Regions from separate parts of the Homo sapiens genome. Here regions 1 and 3 are each linked to region 2. Evidence: promoter capture Hi-C in 16 types of primary human blood cells and fetal thymus (Javierre and others, 2016). All regions are on one chromosome and are shown on one strand. Each heading gives the region's core, a stretch centred on a gene start or on the middle of the fragment in contact. The rest is flanking DNA. Distances are from core to core; before and after follow the strand shown.

Region 1 (5,099 bases), core at 1,772-4,271, 560 kb before region 2:
GCAGCTACACCCTTCTTAAGGGTGGAGGGGATGGGGAATGAAGACACAGATGATGGCATCTGGCACTTCTCACAGTGGCTTTGAGAGAAATGAACTTGTCCTGGGTGTCCTGGCTCCCGAGAAGACTACTCAGAGGACATGCCCTCCCCCACCTCTCCCCATACTCTAGAAAGAGGCCACAGTCTGGAAAGTGATGTCTCAACAGAGGTCTCACTAAGGACACCAGCCTGTTGCCTCCTAGAGGGGGAGTCAGGAATAGACAAACAAGTTACTTGCATTCTAGTCAGTGTGGGAAAGCTTGCGAAAGCCCCCCGACAGGGGCGCTGCGGGTGAGACTGGCCACCACCTGCAATGCTTGGATGATATTTCTCTCCAATGCTTTCCCTTGTCTTTGTGATCCTCTGCTGAAGTTGTAGGGCTTTTTCCTCATTACATTCTCTAACTTCTGTTTTGCACTTTAAGTGATGCATACATTATGGACCATTTTTTCTATTTCTCATTTTCTTATGACACTCTGGATGCTTGTTCCACCCAGTCTTGATCACAATAGTTGAGCTTCTCGACCTAAGCCACCCTCAGCAGAACCACCTTACCTGTACCCAGTGCTGTTCCTGCCAACCACCAGATGCTTGGGATGCTCCTCACACTTGTAAAGGTTAAAGTCATTCTCGGGTACCAGGTCCACATCGTGGAATATAAAGCAGTCCCAATTTTCTTCCTTGAGGGCTTCTAGATAGCCCACATTCAAGAGTTTGGCTCGATTAAACTTTTTACCTTCAGCCTAGAGATATGAAAATTAAAACTTGAAAAGCTCCTGAGATAAAGTTTCATATTGTTTGCCTCTTAGTTAGGATTCAGGAGATGGTATTATTCTAATTATTCTACGCACGAGACTACACTTGTGACATAAAGATCTGACAGAGAAGATGCAATGACAATAAAAGACCATTTGATTTTTTTCTTCGTGCTTCACACATACTTATATTCCAGAACTTAGAAACAGTCCTTGAAATCCAAAGACTTGTTGTTTAATGATAGAGAGTTCCAGTTTTGCAAGATTAAGTTCTGGAGATTGATTTCATAAATACACTGCATATATTTATGCAACCAATATATTGCATAATTATGCATAGATACATTGCATGTAAATATTCTTAACATTACTAAACTGCACACTCAATAATAGTTAAGATAGCAAAAATTTTAAAAAGTTAAAAAAAGTTAAGATGGTAAATTTTACATCGTGTGTTTCACAATTAAAAATTTTTTAAAAGCAGCTTTAAAATACAAATAACTCAAATAATCAATAATAATGTACACTTAAAATGTATTGAGTATAGCTCTCATGTTAAATATTCTTACCACAGTTAACAAAAAAAAATTTTCTCTTAAAATTTTACAAATACCTTTACGTATTCTGTATAAAACTACAAAACCTTTCTTATATACTAGTCATGTCAATTAGTATTACTGCTTCACAGTTCAACCCTAGGTAATCCCAATCTTACCCTCTGTTATGAATTTACACTAAGCTTCTAAGAGACTTAGTTAATAGCTTGCCAGAAAGGATCAAGAAATCTCAACCTATAGAAAGAGAAAGTTATTGCTAATATTTCTAAGCTACTTTAAAGTTTCTCAGAAATCCCTGTAAGAGAATCCTGTTATAATGCTACTGGTGGAGGCTAATCCTCACAGTGGCCTTATGGAGGTAGATTCGTCACTGGGCAATAAAAGAACACAGTTTGACCTGTAATATGATTGAAGCTGTAATAAAAAAATTAAATAATTTTTTCATGGCTGCTTCATTCAAATTCCTTCAGAATGAATTCCAGTTAAGTGGTTTATCATAAAAGTGCAAGTATTTCTCAGAAGTTACCACAATGTTTTCCTGATAAGAATAACACGAAGCAGACATATTTTTCTCTTTCTCTTTTTCTTTTTTTTTAATTTGAGATGGAATCTCGCTCTGTTGCCCAGGCTGGAGTGCAGTGGTGTGATCTTACCTCACTGCAGCCTCCACCTCCTGGGTTCAAGTGATTCTCCTGCCTCAGCCTCCTGGGTAGCTGGGACTACAGGCATGTGCCACCACACCCAACTAATTTTTTTTTTTTTTTTAGTATTTTAACAGAGTATTTTGTATTTTTAGTAGAGACAGGGTTTCACTATGCTGGCCAGGCTAGTCTCAAACTCCTATCCTCAAGTGATCCACCCACCTTGGCCTCCCAAAGTGCTGAGCCACCGGGCCTGGCCCAAAGCAAACATGTTTTTCTATTCATAAAAATAGTACTATACCTTGTAGGTTACTGTCCTGAGCAAGAACTCAGAATCAAATAAATCATAACTATGACCAACAACCTTAAAAACAAAAATAGCTATAAAACAATATAATAGTAACATTTTGTTCCAAGTACTAAAATACAGACATAGGTGTGCTATATAAGCACACTGATTTTCAAGAGCCTCAGTTTATCACCAAGTCTATACTGCAGAGCTGGTCCTCTGAGTTGTCCAAAGTTTTATCTAAAAGAAATATTACCTGTTCTAACAGTAGTGATGATTTTGCTGACATTCTTAGAATTTATAAGAATTTGAGGGGGAATTATCCCTCTTCTTGGCCTCCTTGGATGGCCAAGGATAACTGTGAAAAGTTTAGACACTGATGTTTAAACTGATGTCTTAGTTTTCTTTCAATAAACTTTAATGCCAAATAGAGGTATCTTTAATCATCCACTCCACTGACCTCAGAGGTAAGCTCTTCAAAAGCAGCCGATAGTTATGCTGTGCTCCTACCAAATCATGCTTCTGGAAGTCAAATAGATGAATCCAGAAAGTGAAAATCAAACATAATATGTTTCACATAATAAATAGTGGCAAAGTTCAGGGCAGAAATGTGGTGGCAGCCATAGAGCACCACAGCTACTAATACAGAATGTTCTTTCAAATCCTCTGTCTAGATCCCCATTGAGTTGCTATGGTTGATAATGACAGACAATTCCAGAATCTCATCATATAGTGCATGGCACGCACAGAAAGAAACAGAAGGGGCCAGGAAGCCTCCGGGGAAATCTGAGGGCAGTCATTGGCTAACATGGAAGGGCTCACAAAACAGGCTTCCTCCAGAGGTTCCTTTAAGGGCAGTAAAATTTCCCAGAACTTGAACCCATAACTCCACACTCTGAGACAAGAATTTCCTCTACTCCTTTCAAGGATAAATGAGGTAAGAGAACTCGTTTTTGATGATAGTCTGATGTTCCTTTTACCCAACATAGACAAACAGTCACATGGCCAAGTCTGGCAGAGAAGAGGAGGGTCGAGGGCAGGCCCTGGTCTGCCCCCACGCTCACCTGGTGGATGACGTAGATGCCATAATCCAGCTGCTGCCTCTGCAGGAAGGGATGCAGATGTTCCAGCAGGTACATCAGGTGTTTCTCTCTGTTCCGGTGGGGAACGAGGATGGCGACCCTCTGTAAAGCTTTACATTCCTGAGGGCGATACCGGCCTCTGGACACTTTGGGATTTTCTGCCTGTACCTCTTCCAAAGTGAGATCTGGTTTGAAAATGAGCTTGCTCTGGCCTCCTACAATGAACATAGGACACAGACAATAACAGTAGCTACTTCAAAAAGTGTTGAGGTTTACACGAGCTAATATGCATAGAAAGAACACTGCCCAGCTCACAGTGAGTACTACAAATGTCAGCTTTTATTATGATTACTTTAAAGGCTCATTTAGTCATGATAATGGCCAGAGCATCATGTCACTAAGGTTACTGGCTGCAAAAGCAAGTGGTGGATATATAATATAAGCATTTCCTTGTGGCTGGGTAATCAACTTGCTCTATGATCCATCTGTAAGAGGGAATATCCTGGTGAACTCTGGTAAGAGCAAAGGGCAGGGCTAGACAGAGTAACTTCAACTTTGGTCTATCCTCTTTTCCTTCACCAAATTCCAGGAGGAGGGGAAAATCTCTTAAATATCAACAGCATTCCACAGAATCAAGCTCCTGGACAAGGCACTCTTCCCACCCCTTCCCTAAACTCTGGAACCACCCTGGCTCCCTGTAAGCAAAGCACTAAAAAGAAGTAGAAACCAGTCTCCCTCCCTAACCCAGCTGTAACAGGTATGTGTGGCACTGCAACAACTCTCCCATTTTGCCACCACAACAGACGTTTCCAATCGAGCACAGTATTTGCTCAGTGTCTGGAAGCAATCCAAACAGATGAAACCCAAAGCCATCCACAGGAGGAAAACAGCTCAGGTTTTTTTGTTTGTTTGTTTCTAAATTCCACGTATACTGGTCAGGCTGTAAAATCTCAAGATGCTTGCAAATTGAGCTATCCCCTTCTGAGTAAAGCAGTCATAGGCCCTTCCTGTGCGAAAGTCGCCATGACTTGTTCCATGTAACCATCCCCTACCCTGGCCATGGCTGCTTAGACCAGGCTCACGTGTCTAATGGCACCTTGGTGCTCTGCTCAACAGCAGGCAAGGTAAGTAACTTCTTCAAGCCACCCAAAGAGAATAATTGGCCTACGAGAGCCTTCCTGCAGGGTCTACATGCAAGACACAGCAGTCAGTAATGCCCTAAAAACAAACAGTAAGGAATGGAGTTACACAGATGACAACTACTAGAGCTGATGCTGGGCTATCGAGCTACCAGAGATAATGGGGTAGCTGTTGAGATGGTCTCCTGTGTGGCCTGTTCACAATCCCCATCGTTAACCTGACTGTGTCTCTGTTCTTGCGCGCTCAAAGAGCCTCACGCAACAGGTCTAATATAAACTAGTCCCCCGGCTCACCTTCTCATCGTCATAACTTTTTACGTGCCCTAACCTAGTATCTGCTTCCACTTACTCTCTATCAGTCTCCCTATCACTCCCCCTACCCCAACATCTTCTCAAGATCTGCCCCTCCTTGGGTCACTAATGGCCCATTTTAAGTCATCACCAACCACATCACCTTTAGTCCAGTACTTGCCCAGTAATGCATCACTGTCCCTCTATTCTTTATGAATGAATTTACTGTTTAAATATACTGTGAGCATTTTAAGCAAGGGGAATAATCAGCCAGTAAAATTTGCATTTCCCTGACTCATTTTTACAT
Region 2 (4,882 bases), core at 627-3,126:
TGGTTTCATAATCTGTTCTTAGTTTCCTGTTTCTGCTGTAAATAATTCACTATATTTTTAAGAGAGAGAAGGTCAGGCCCTTGTGAGCCAGAAGGGATTTGAGAGATGATGAAAGCTACGTATGTTACCCATAACCTAAGGACTTCTGGCAAGGTGGCCTACCTGAGCTGGAGTCATGCCTTTTTTCCCTGGACTTGGAGATACCTGTCAGTGCAGAAAGGCCTACTTTTGATCTTGGAAATAAGTTTCCTGGGGTGAGTTCTTAACCCTTTCCAGCTTTCCCACCCTCTTTGGCTTTAGCCATGGCCTTCTGATCTGTGTTTCTCAGGGGACCTGCAGGCCCCAGATATAGCCCCATGCTGTCCTCCTACCCCAGAGCACACTGTTCAGGCTACTTCCACTGGTACTGAAATCCAGTATTTCACTTACTCTTTTTCTTTCCAATATCCTCATGACATTCAATATTTCACTTACTCTAGGTCCTCCCTGCCTAAGGCCCAAGTCAACTTTCTGTCCAGTGGGATTTGTAATCCAATACCTCCTAGCCCTAGCAGAATCCCATGTGGATAATCAGAAATGTGACTGGAAAAAGGACAGAGCTCTATGGCTGTGGGTCCCAGTCCCCACTGCTGGCAGTAAGTCCCCAGCAGTGAGCTGTGTAAGCACCTTACATTCTGCGCTTGGTTGAAAACAGCAAGGCAAGCATCCACTTGAGAAATGTCAACCCCTAGGAAATCCCAGCCTCAAGTCTTTCTCATCCCTTGGGAAGTGCAAATTGGATAGAGAAGAAACCAATTAAAAACAAAACAAACAAATCATACTTAGATATTCTGGCTTTTCTCACCAGGGCTGGATTAAAGCATGTACTTCAAAATAATAACAACTTAAGTCAATAAATAAATGTAAGGAAGTCCAAATGTTCACCTGAAGACAACTGTGGTCATTTTTTGGCAATCCCAGGTTCTCTTTTCTACCTGTTTGCTCAATCGTGGTCTCCCTCTCCCTCTCTTGTTGGGGCCCATGCCCCTGCTTTACTGTTGCCAGAGGCTTGTACTTGTTTGCCTTTTAGGTAGGAGCAGTTACTTCCACTCCCCTCACCTGCCATAAAGCATCTTTATAAACAAAGCAAGTAGAAGAAACACATCCTGGTATCCACCACATTCGGCTTTTGTTGATTCTGTTCACTTGGGAGCACCTGCTGCTAGGGAATAAGAAGGTTGAGGCTGAAGAGTGAGGACTCTTCAGCTCCCCTCTGGCAGGACCCGGGAGAGGAAAGAGCCCTCAGCTGGTCCATCCTCCCCACTCCTGGTCAGCCTTCTGTTCTGAGATCAAAGTGGTGGGGTCACATTCTCGAGAACTGTGCTCAGCCCCCTCATCTCACACCCTTTCCCTCTCCCTGTGTGCCTGCCCCCCTCTTACATAACCATGCTGGTGATTGGCACCGTCATAAATCAATACTTTGCTCACTTTCACATCAAGTAACACTATCCAGGGAGGTGGTTTCAACAAAGGAGGAAGTATAAGGAGATCTAGGTTCAAATTAATGTTGCCCCTAGTGGTAAAGGACAGAGACCCTCAGACTGATGAAATGCACTCAGAATTACTTAGACAAAGCGGATATTTGCCACTCTCTTCCCCTTTTCCTGTGTTTTTGTAGTGAAGAGACCTGAAAGAAAAAAGTAGGGAGAACATAATGAGAACAAATACGGTAATCTCTTCATTTGCTAGTTCAAGTGCTGGACTTGGGACTTAGGAGGGGCAATGGAGCCGCTTAGTGCCTACATCTGACTTGGACTGAAATATAGGTGAGAGACAAGATTGTCTCATATCCGGGGAAATCATAACCTATGACTAGGACGGGAAGAGGAAGCACTGCCTTTACTTCAGTGGGAATCTCGGCCTCAGCCTGCAAGCCAAGTGTTCACAGTGAGAAAAGCAAGAGAATAAGCTAATACTCCTGTCCTGAACAAGGCAGCGGCTCCTTGGTAAAGCTACTCCTTGATCGATCCTTTGCACCGGATTGTTCAAAGTGGACCCCAGGGGAGAAGTCGGAGCAAAGAACTTACCACCAAGCAGGTATGGTTTTTCTTTCTTTCTCTTTTGCTGGGGGCTGACCGCCCTTCAGCTCCAGCCAAAAGATGTGTGTGAACACAAATATACCTTCTGTTTGAGGTCAGCATCATAGTGGGTCGTGAATCATGTTGGCCTTGCTGCTGTCTCCTCATTTCTAGGGTGGAAAAAAAAAAGCATGAAAACAATCACTTAATGTTGAGCCCCATTACTGATGCTCTCTGGTCCTGCACTAGCCTCCTAGAAAAATCACCACAGGAGAAGCCTTAACTACTGCATGAGTTACCACAAGTCACACATACAACCAGCTCCCTGTTACAGGGCTGGAGTCCCTGGACCCAGGAAATACCACCTCCAAGGACTGTGGGAGCTGGGGACTATGGGAACTGGGATCAACTCAGTCCTGATTCCTTTTGGCCTGCTGGGTTAGTGCTGGCAGCCCCCTGAGGCCAAGGACAGCAGCATGACAGTCACCAGGACTCACCACTTCAAGGAGGGGTCCCTCAGAGCACCTGCCATACCCCTGCACAGTGCTGCGGCTGAGTTGGCTTCAAACCAGTGAGTTTTCTACCTCTACTATTGAAAGGGCACCTTGTCCCACAGAACCGAGTCTTGCCTGCATGTGGTCAGTGCCACCAGGTCCTTCTTCTCTCCACTTTACAGCCCAGCTCGGCTGAAGCTATGGCCAGAGGCACTGCTTTAAGGCCACTCCATATCTAGGACAGGTCAACAGACACCTCTGAGGCCACTGAGTCTTGACTCAATGAATCAGCTATAGCAGGCACTATTCCTCTCCCACATGGCCTCTAATGATATGGTCAGAGTTGAAAGGATGCTAAGGGAGGCCTCAGAGGCTTATTTAATCAGTTGGTTAATGGGAAAAAGTATTTTGTGGTACACAAATACGCTTTAAAAATATTTTAGTTATGTCATAAAAGTCTAAACCTGGGGTTGACAAACTATGGCTCACAGGCTAACTCTGGCCCACCAGCTGTTTTTATAAATGAAGCTTTATTGGAACACAGCCATGCCCATTCGTTATGTATTGTATATGGCTGTTTTTGCCCTACAACATCCTTTCAACTCTGGCCATATCATTAGAGGCCATGTGGGAGAGGAATAGTGCCTGCTATAGCTGATTCATTGAGTCAGCAAAATTGACCAATTGCGAAAGAGACAGTATGGCCCACAAAGCCTAAAATATTAACTATCTGGCCTTTAACAGAAAAAGTTTGCCAACTCCTGATCTAAAAGCTGTCAACTTGTTCCAAAATTATTATGGAATAAACCCAAGACAACCACAAAACTGACTAGACTAGGTTTTTTAGGTAATAACTTTTTAAATTATAAAGTAATACATGATTTCATGCTCCTTGAAAATGAGAAAGCAGTATAGATAAACCTAAATTCACCTTTGGCCATTCTGTCAATCCTAATCTCCAGTTTCCCCAAAAGTACTTAGTGTGATATATTTACTGCCAGACCATTGTGTCTGTGTGTGTGTTCATCTATGCATAGATGGACTATTAAACCTATCTGTTGCCATGTTGTTCTAATTCTGTTTTTCCACTCAATAGCAAGACTTGGAGACTTTCCATATCTGTATAGAGCTCTACTTCATTTATTTTAACTGCTACGTCATATTTCACAGTGTACACTTCTTTTATTTAGCCGTTTTCTTTTCGATAGATATTTAAGCTTTTCCAATTTTTCAGTCTTACCAATGAACCTCACTGTGTTTGTCTGCTTCTAGACATGTGCACGTATTGCACTAGAGGAACTACTAAGACGTTGAATTGCCACATCACAGGATATATGTGGTTCAATTTTTGGCTGCCAAACAGCCCTCCACAGTACCCGAACCGACTGTACTCCCACCAGCAGAGAAGGATAGTTACTGTTCCTCCACACTCCAAACAATGCTTGCTGTTTATTCAGTATTTTATTATTTTTTCCATTGAATTAGTGCAAATGACAACCCATTATTTCAATATTTTAATTTCCCTGATTATTAATGAAGTTGAGCATTCTTTTTATAGGACCCCTCTTGGCCATTGTATTTCTCTTCTTAAATTACCTATTCATATCCTTAGCTTATTTTATGTCGGATTTTTTTTCTTCTTTGTAGGAGTTTTTTATTTATTCTCAATGCAAATTATTTGATATGTGTGTAATATTCTCTCTAAGCTTTGTTTAAATCATACTTTTTAGCCAACAGAAATTTTTACTATTATTGTTGTTGTTATTTTGATGTAGTTGAATCTGTTAGTTTCCCTCTTTCTGGATTTTACTCTTTGAGGCTGATTTTTAAAAGATTTCTCAACTTCCAAAATTATGAAGCTACTTTGGTGCACCTTCCTGTAATACTTTTATTTAAAAAGTTAGTCTTTATTCACCTGGCACTTATTGCAATACATTATTTCAATACTATTTATTGAAAAGTCCATCTTTTTCCTATTTGTTTGAAATATCACCTCTATCATGTACTAAATTCCCACTTACACATGTCCATTTCTGTGTCCTTTTGTATTTATTTCCTATTCCTGAGCCAATTTCCACTATAATGTTTACCTTTTCTACTTGATTTTTTCCCCCAATAAATAGAAAATCTATTTTGTGTTTTGATATTTTGCCTAGTTACCTTATGGAATTCTCTTAATAGTTATAAAAGCTTATCAGTTGATTCCTTTGGAATTTCTAGTTAGACAAACATATCATCTATATATAGTAAGAGTTTTGCTCCTTCCTTTCCAATCTTTACAAACCTTAATTTTTTGTGTCTTATTGGTTTTTCTTTGCCATTCAGCATAAT
Region 3 (4,445 bases), core at 1,041-3,540, 610 kb before region 2:
CTTGTCTACACTGCTGCTGGTGGTGGTGAACTAGACAGTGGGGATGGCCAACAGAAAGGGATAGAGCCTCTCTCTGGCCACTCACACAGGACGACATCATTTCCCTCTCAAATGAACATACACAGGGAGTTGGGGGGTTATTAAAGACCTCAACTTCTCCCCAAAACTACTGGAGTCTGTAGTTTGAATTGTGGTGATAGGAAGAAAATATCTAAGTGTTTCTAACAGAAGTGAGATATTAGTAATGAGAATTCACTGATGAGCTTGGAATCAGGTTAAGATGTGGGTAAGGGAGCCACCTAGCCAGAGAGAAAGGAAGATTAGCAGAAGAGAGTTAGAAATAAATTAACTGGAAAAAAATAAGCCTGTCATACATTAACGACTTGACGTTCCTCAACTATTCAGTTGCAGTTATTATCTGAAAACTAATCTTCCTTTTCCTAGCTAGTCTCTTGTCTCTTGTTATTGGGTTTGTGTTCACATTATCTATTTTGAAGATTTTCAAATCTTTTTGTTTTCTCCCCATATAATCATGGTAATGGAACATAAAATGCCTAAGACATGAATGAAAATTCACATGTCCTTGTTTGCTTCCTTGCTACTTTATCACAAATATTTCCAGGACAGCACATGTTTTTAATAACTTGTACGTTCTTATAATTATAATATAGATCCTTTGTAAACATATGAACTGCAAAAATAGAAGACTGTAAAAGTCACCCATATTTTACCATTCAGATATATTCTGGTTAATGTTTGCTGTATACTATTTCTAACTTTTTAAGTCATAGGTAAACTTTCTTAAAAATTAAAATGTGTCAGATTACACAAACTATTTTGTAAACCGCTTTTTCATTTTCAGCCTCTAGAAGAGTGCCTGGCACATCCTAAGTTTTCAATAAATATTTGTCAAATAAATGACTGAACTTATTTCCATACCATTAAATGTTTATCTGTGGTGTCATTTTTAACCATTGCACAGAATTCTATTGTGTGAAATATGATAATTTATCTAACAAGGCCCTGAAGAGCTGCAGAGGAATAAGGCCTTGTGATGGACACAGAGGTGCTCCATGCAGTCCCCCTTGAAGTGGGAGGTTGCCCTGCTGCTGGGAGTACTTGCAACCTCCAGCCTCCAGTTATCAGCCCCTTTCAGGACTTGCCTCAGCTACAGAAAGCTGCCTTCCCAGGGTAATCCACATTGAAGGGCAGATCATAGAGGAGCCCAGTGTCAGAGCTACTCTGACAGGCCATCTTCCTCCAGAGTTTCCTGAGGAGGGCTGCTTAAGACTGTCCCATCTATATTGCAGCTCAACTTCTTCCTCTGCCCAGTCCTGTTTCTCCCCTCTCCCTGCCATGGGTGTTAATCTCAGGGCACTGTCTAATAAATATATTGCACACTAAATTTTGTCTCAAAGTCTGCTCCTGAACAACCTAACCTGCAACAGAGATGATGCTGACCTTTGAGGAACTCCCAAGTCTATTGGTAAAAGCACTCAGTAAATTCTAACATTACTGCAGTTACCGATTCCTAACTCAGGTTAAACAAGCGATGGCGCATGTATACCATGATAGGTTATGCAGCCATTAAAATAATGTTCTGGGTGCCATGTATAACACATGATGGCTCCAGAAGTCAGGGAAGAAGGAAAAAAGAAGGGAAGGGAAGAGAAGAGAAAGGGAGGGAAGAAGAGGGGAGGGAAGAATTGGACATCAGATAATCACTTGAGCCCTCTCTCTCCGTGAATTTTTCCCAATCTGTTTCTTTCCACATCTCTTGCTCCTTATCAGTCTTTGGGCCACCTACAGTATGAGCATTACTTGGGCAATTACTGTCTCTCTGAATTTGGCATATGCAAATTATAGAAACTAAAACTGGACATGGCCCTACACAGGTAAGCACATATCAGCATCGCTGTGAGCGGTCAGGACTAACAAGCCTTCAACACACAAAAGCAGGAGTAAGGATCAAATTACACAAATCAAATCAAATCAAATCAAAATAAAATCCCTGAGTTTGTATTCCAGTAAAGCCCAAACCTAGGAGGGATCCAGGAAAGCGATGAGTGTGGCTGTCAAGGTGCTTCCATCTGTCAGAGTCACACATTCCAAAGCAGCAGAAATCAACTGACAGCCTCCGGTTACTCCCCCGCCTCAGCGAGGCAGGGCAGGCAGCGGAAAGCTCAGCCCATGTGAGGTGCCTCCTGCCAATCACAGACTACCCTTCCCTGGTCCTGGAGGTTCAAAGAATTGCAGGAGGGTAGAAAAGCACCTGGGTCGGGTGCAGACTGCGGAGCGGGCCCTACCGTGTGCGCAGAAAGAGGAGGCGCTGTGAGTAGACCGCTTTCCCTCTGCAGGGAATCTCCCGGGCTCAAGGGCTGGGTTGCTCTCCTGGGAGGGAAGCTAGCAGACTGGGAGGGAAAGGGGAAGAAGTTAGATTCTTGATTCATAAAGTCTGTCATTTTTTTCTTTGTAATTTAGGGTATTGTGACTGTCCTGTTCTCTTTTACTTTGAACCGTTGGAATTGCTTTCTTAATACCCTTGATATAAGTCTTGTTCTCATTAAACTTCTGGAGATATTACGCAGCCATCCTGCTTTCAACCTCAGATATCCCCACAGAAAGAACAAGAAAATCCAAGCACCCCGAGAAACCCTATATCTCCTGATTAAATCGCACATAGACAGTCACCTTTGTAGACCCCCAATTTCCTTGTGGAGTCAGAAAAGCAATAGAAAGTTTAACGAAATAGCTCGTGTTATTTCTTAATAATCTGTTCAGGCTAGCAGAGAGAAAGTTTCTTGGTCTTCTTGTCAGAAATCATTTGGTCCTGCCAACCTGTAATGAAATGTGTGAAGCAATTTACTCCCAGTTATTCTCTGCAAACACTTCTGCTTAATAAATGTGTCAGTTGAAGTAAGTCAACAAAGTAGCTTTATCTACGCAATGTTATTTTTACATAATTTGTTTTTACTCCTTACCAATTCTTTGCTCCACCATGATCTGCAGGACATAAAGATATTTTTCATTCTGATCACATTTTCACACAAAATACAAATTTAAGTTTCAAATAATGCTAGTATTATTTTATGTTTGCATTTGTTTATAAACCTAAAACTCCACTTCTAACTAGTTTTAAAGATTTTTAAGCCATTTAAGAATTCGTAGCCAGTCACAGTGGCACATGCCTGCAGTTCCAGCTATTCGGGAAGCTGAGGCCACGTGATCAGGAGTTCTAGTCCAGGCTGGGCAACATAGTGAGATCCTGTCTCTAAAAAAAATAAAAATAAATTTTTAAAGAAGTTTTGTTAACTTGAATGTCTTCTTTTAATGAAAGACAACGTTTCTTGAACATTTCTTGCCTGAGTTGCTAAGCACAACAGGAAAGAACTCATTAGGTTTTATAGATATACATACTTTGAGTATAAACAAAATTTAGGTTACATAGTTTTCAGACCCTATGAAGAAGTGGATTTTCTTTTTATTAACCTTCTCAGTGAGGAGAAAAATTTCTTACTTTGCTTTCTGCTCCAACAGATTGTTTTGCTTTCTGCTATAAAATAGTCTTTAAAATCAACTCACCTATTTTTTTTTTTTTTAACTGCTGGGAAGAATCATAGACTTTTACATCCAAAGGGGACCTTAGACATCATTTAATCAAGGGGAAAAAAAAGAAACTCAGAACTTTTTTTTTCTTTTATTTTCTTTTTTTTTTTTTTTTTTTTTTTTTTTTTTTTTTTGAGACGGAGTCACTCTGAGGCCCAGGCTGGAGTGCAGTGGCGTGATCTCTGCTCACTGCAAGCTCTGCCTCCCGGGTAGATGCCATTCTCCTGCCTCAGCCTCCCGAGTAGCTGGGACTACAGGTGTCTGCCACCACGCCCGGCCAATTTTTTGTATTTTTAGTAGAGACGGGGTTTCACCGTGTTAGCCAAGATGGTCTCAATCTCCTGACCTCGTGATCCATCCACCTCAGCCTCCCAAAGTGCTGAGATTACAGGCTTGAGCCACCGCACCCGGCCAAAACTCAGAACTTCTTTTTGACTTCTCCTGCTTACAATCTTAACCAGAGTAAACACCAGCCAGCCTTTAAATATGCTCTGGAATTTGTGCCTGATAGCCATGCAGGCTGCCCACAAACTTGATGGGCCACCATTCACCAACTGGGACAGAGACCACATTGGTGAGGGGGCACCATCATCACACACCGCCCTACCCGCCTGCCCACCCCCTCCCCCCCGCCCCAAGGACTCTCCATAGTACTCCTGCCCTGGAGCTGGGCATCTCTCTGGCAATGCCCACACCTGAGGCCCTCGTGCAACTGAGTGCTCCTGAGCCATTGCTTACAGCTAGTCCCTGATTTCCAATGGGTGGATGACTCCCATCATACTGGGAGCACCAGGAATCAAGAGCAGTGCTGTCCAGTAAAACTTTCTGTGATGAGGGAA

What was found. Contacts are between HindIII fragments. The CHiCAGO score rates a contact against its expected background, and 5 or more counts as called.
Region 1: a contact is called between the fragment with the promoter of B4GALT4-AS1 here and the fragment with the promoter of NR1I2 in region 2, in 8 of 17 cell types (naive B cells, erythroblasts, total B cells and 5 more). The highest score is 12.7, in naive B cells.
Region 3: the fragment with the promoter of UPK1B here is called in contact with the fragment with the promoter of NR1I2 in region 2 in 4 of 17 cell types (monocytes, total CD4 T cells, total B cells and 1 more); the score reaches 8.1 in monocytes.

The regions. Positions count from the first base shown.
Region 1 is chr3:119,223,465-119,228,563 of GRCh38, forward strand. B4GALT4-AS1 (B4GALT4 antisense RNA 1) reads left to right here and starts at 3,022. Exons shown (of 4, transcript NR_046574.1): 1 at 3,022-3,217. It overlaps B4GALT4 (beta-1,4-galactosyltransferase 4), which reads right to left. Exons shown (of 8, transcript NM_003778.4): 4 at 3,345-3,577; 5 at 594-781. RefSeq lists a silencer at 1,824-1,996. The HindIII fragment of the contact is 1,940 bases long and covers 1,531-3,470 here.
Region 2 is chr3:119,780,225-119,785,106 of GRCh38, forward strand. It overlaps NR1I2 (nuclear receptor subfamily 1 group I member 2), which reads left to right and starts at 1,877. Exons shown (of 9, transcript NM_003889.4): 1 at 1,877-2,076. The HindIII fragment of the contact is 6,406 bases long and covers 1-3,077 here.
Region 3 is chr3:119,171,308-119,175,752 of GRCh38, forward strand. UPK1B (uroplakin 1B) reads left to right here and starts at 2,291. Exons shown (of 8, transcript NM_006952.4): 1 at 2,291-2,331. The HindIII fragment of the contact is 9,656 bases long and covers 1-4,445 here.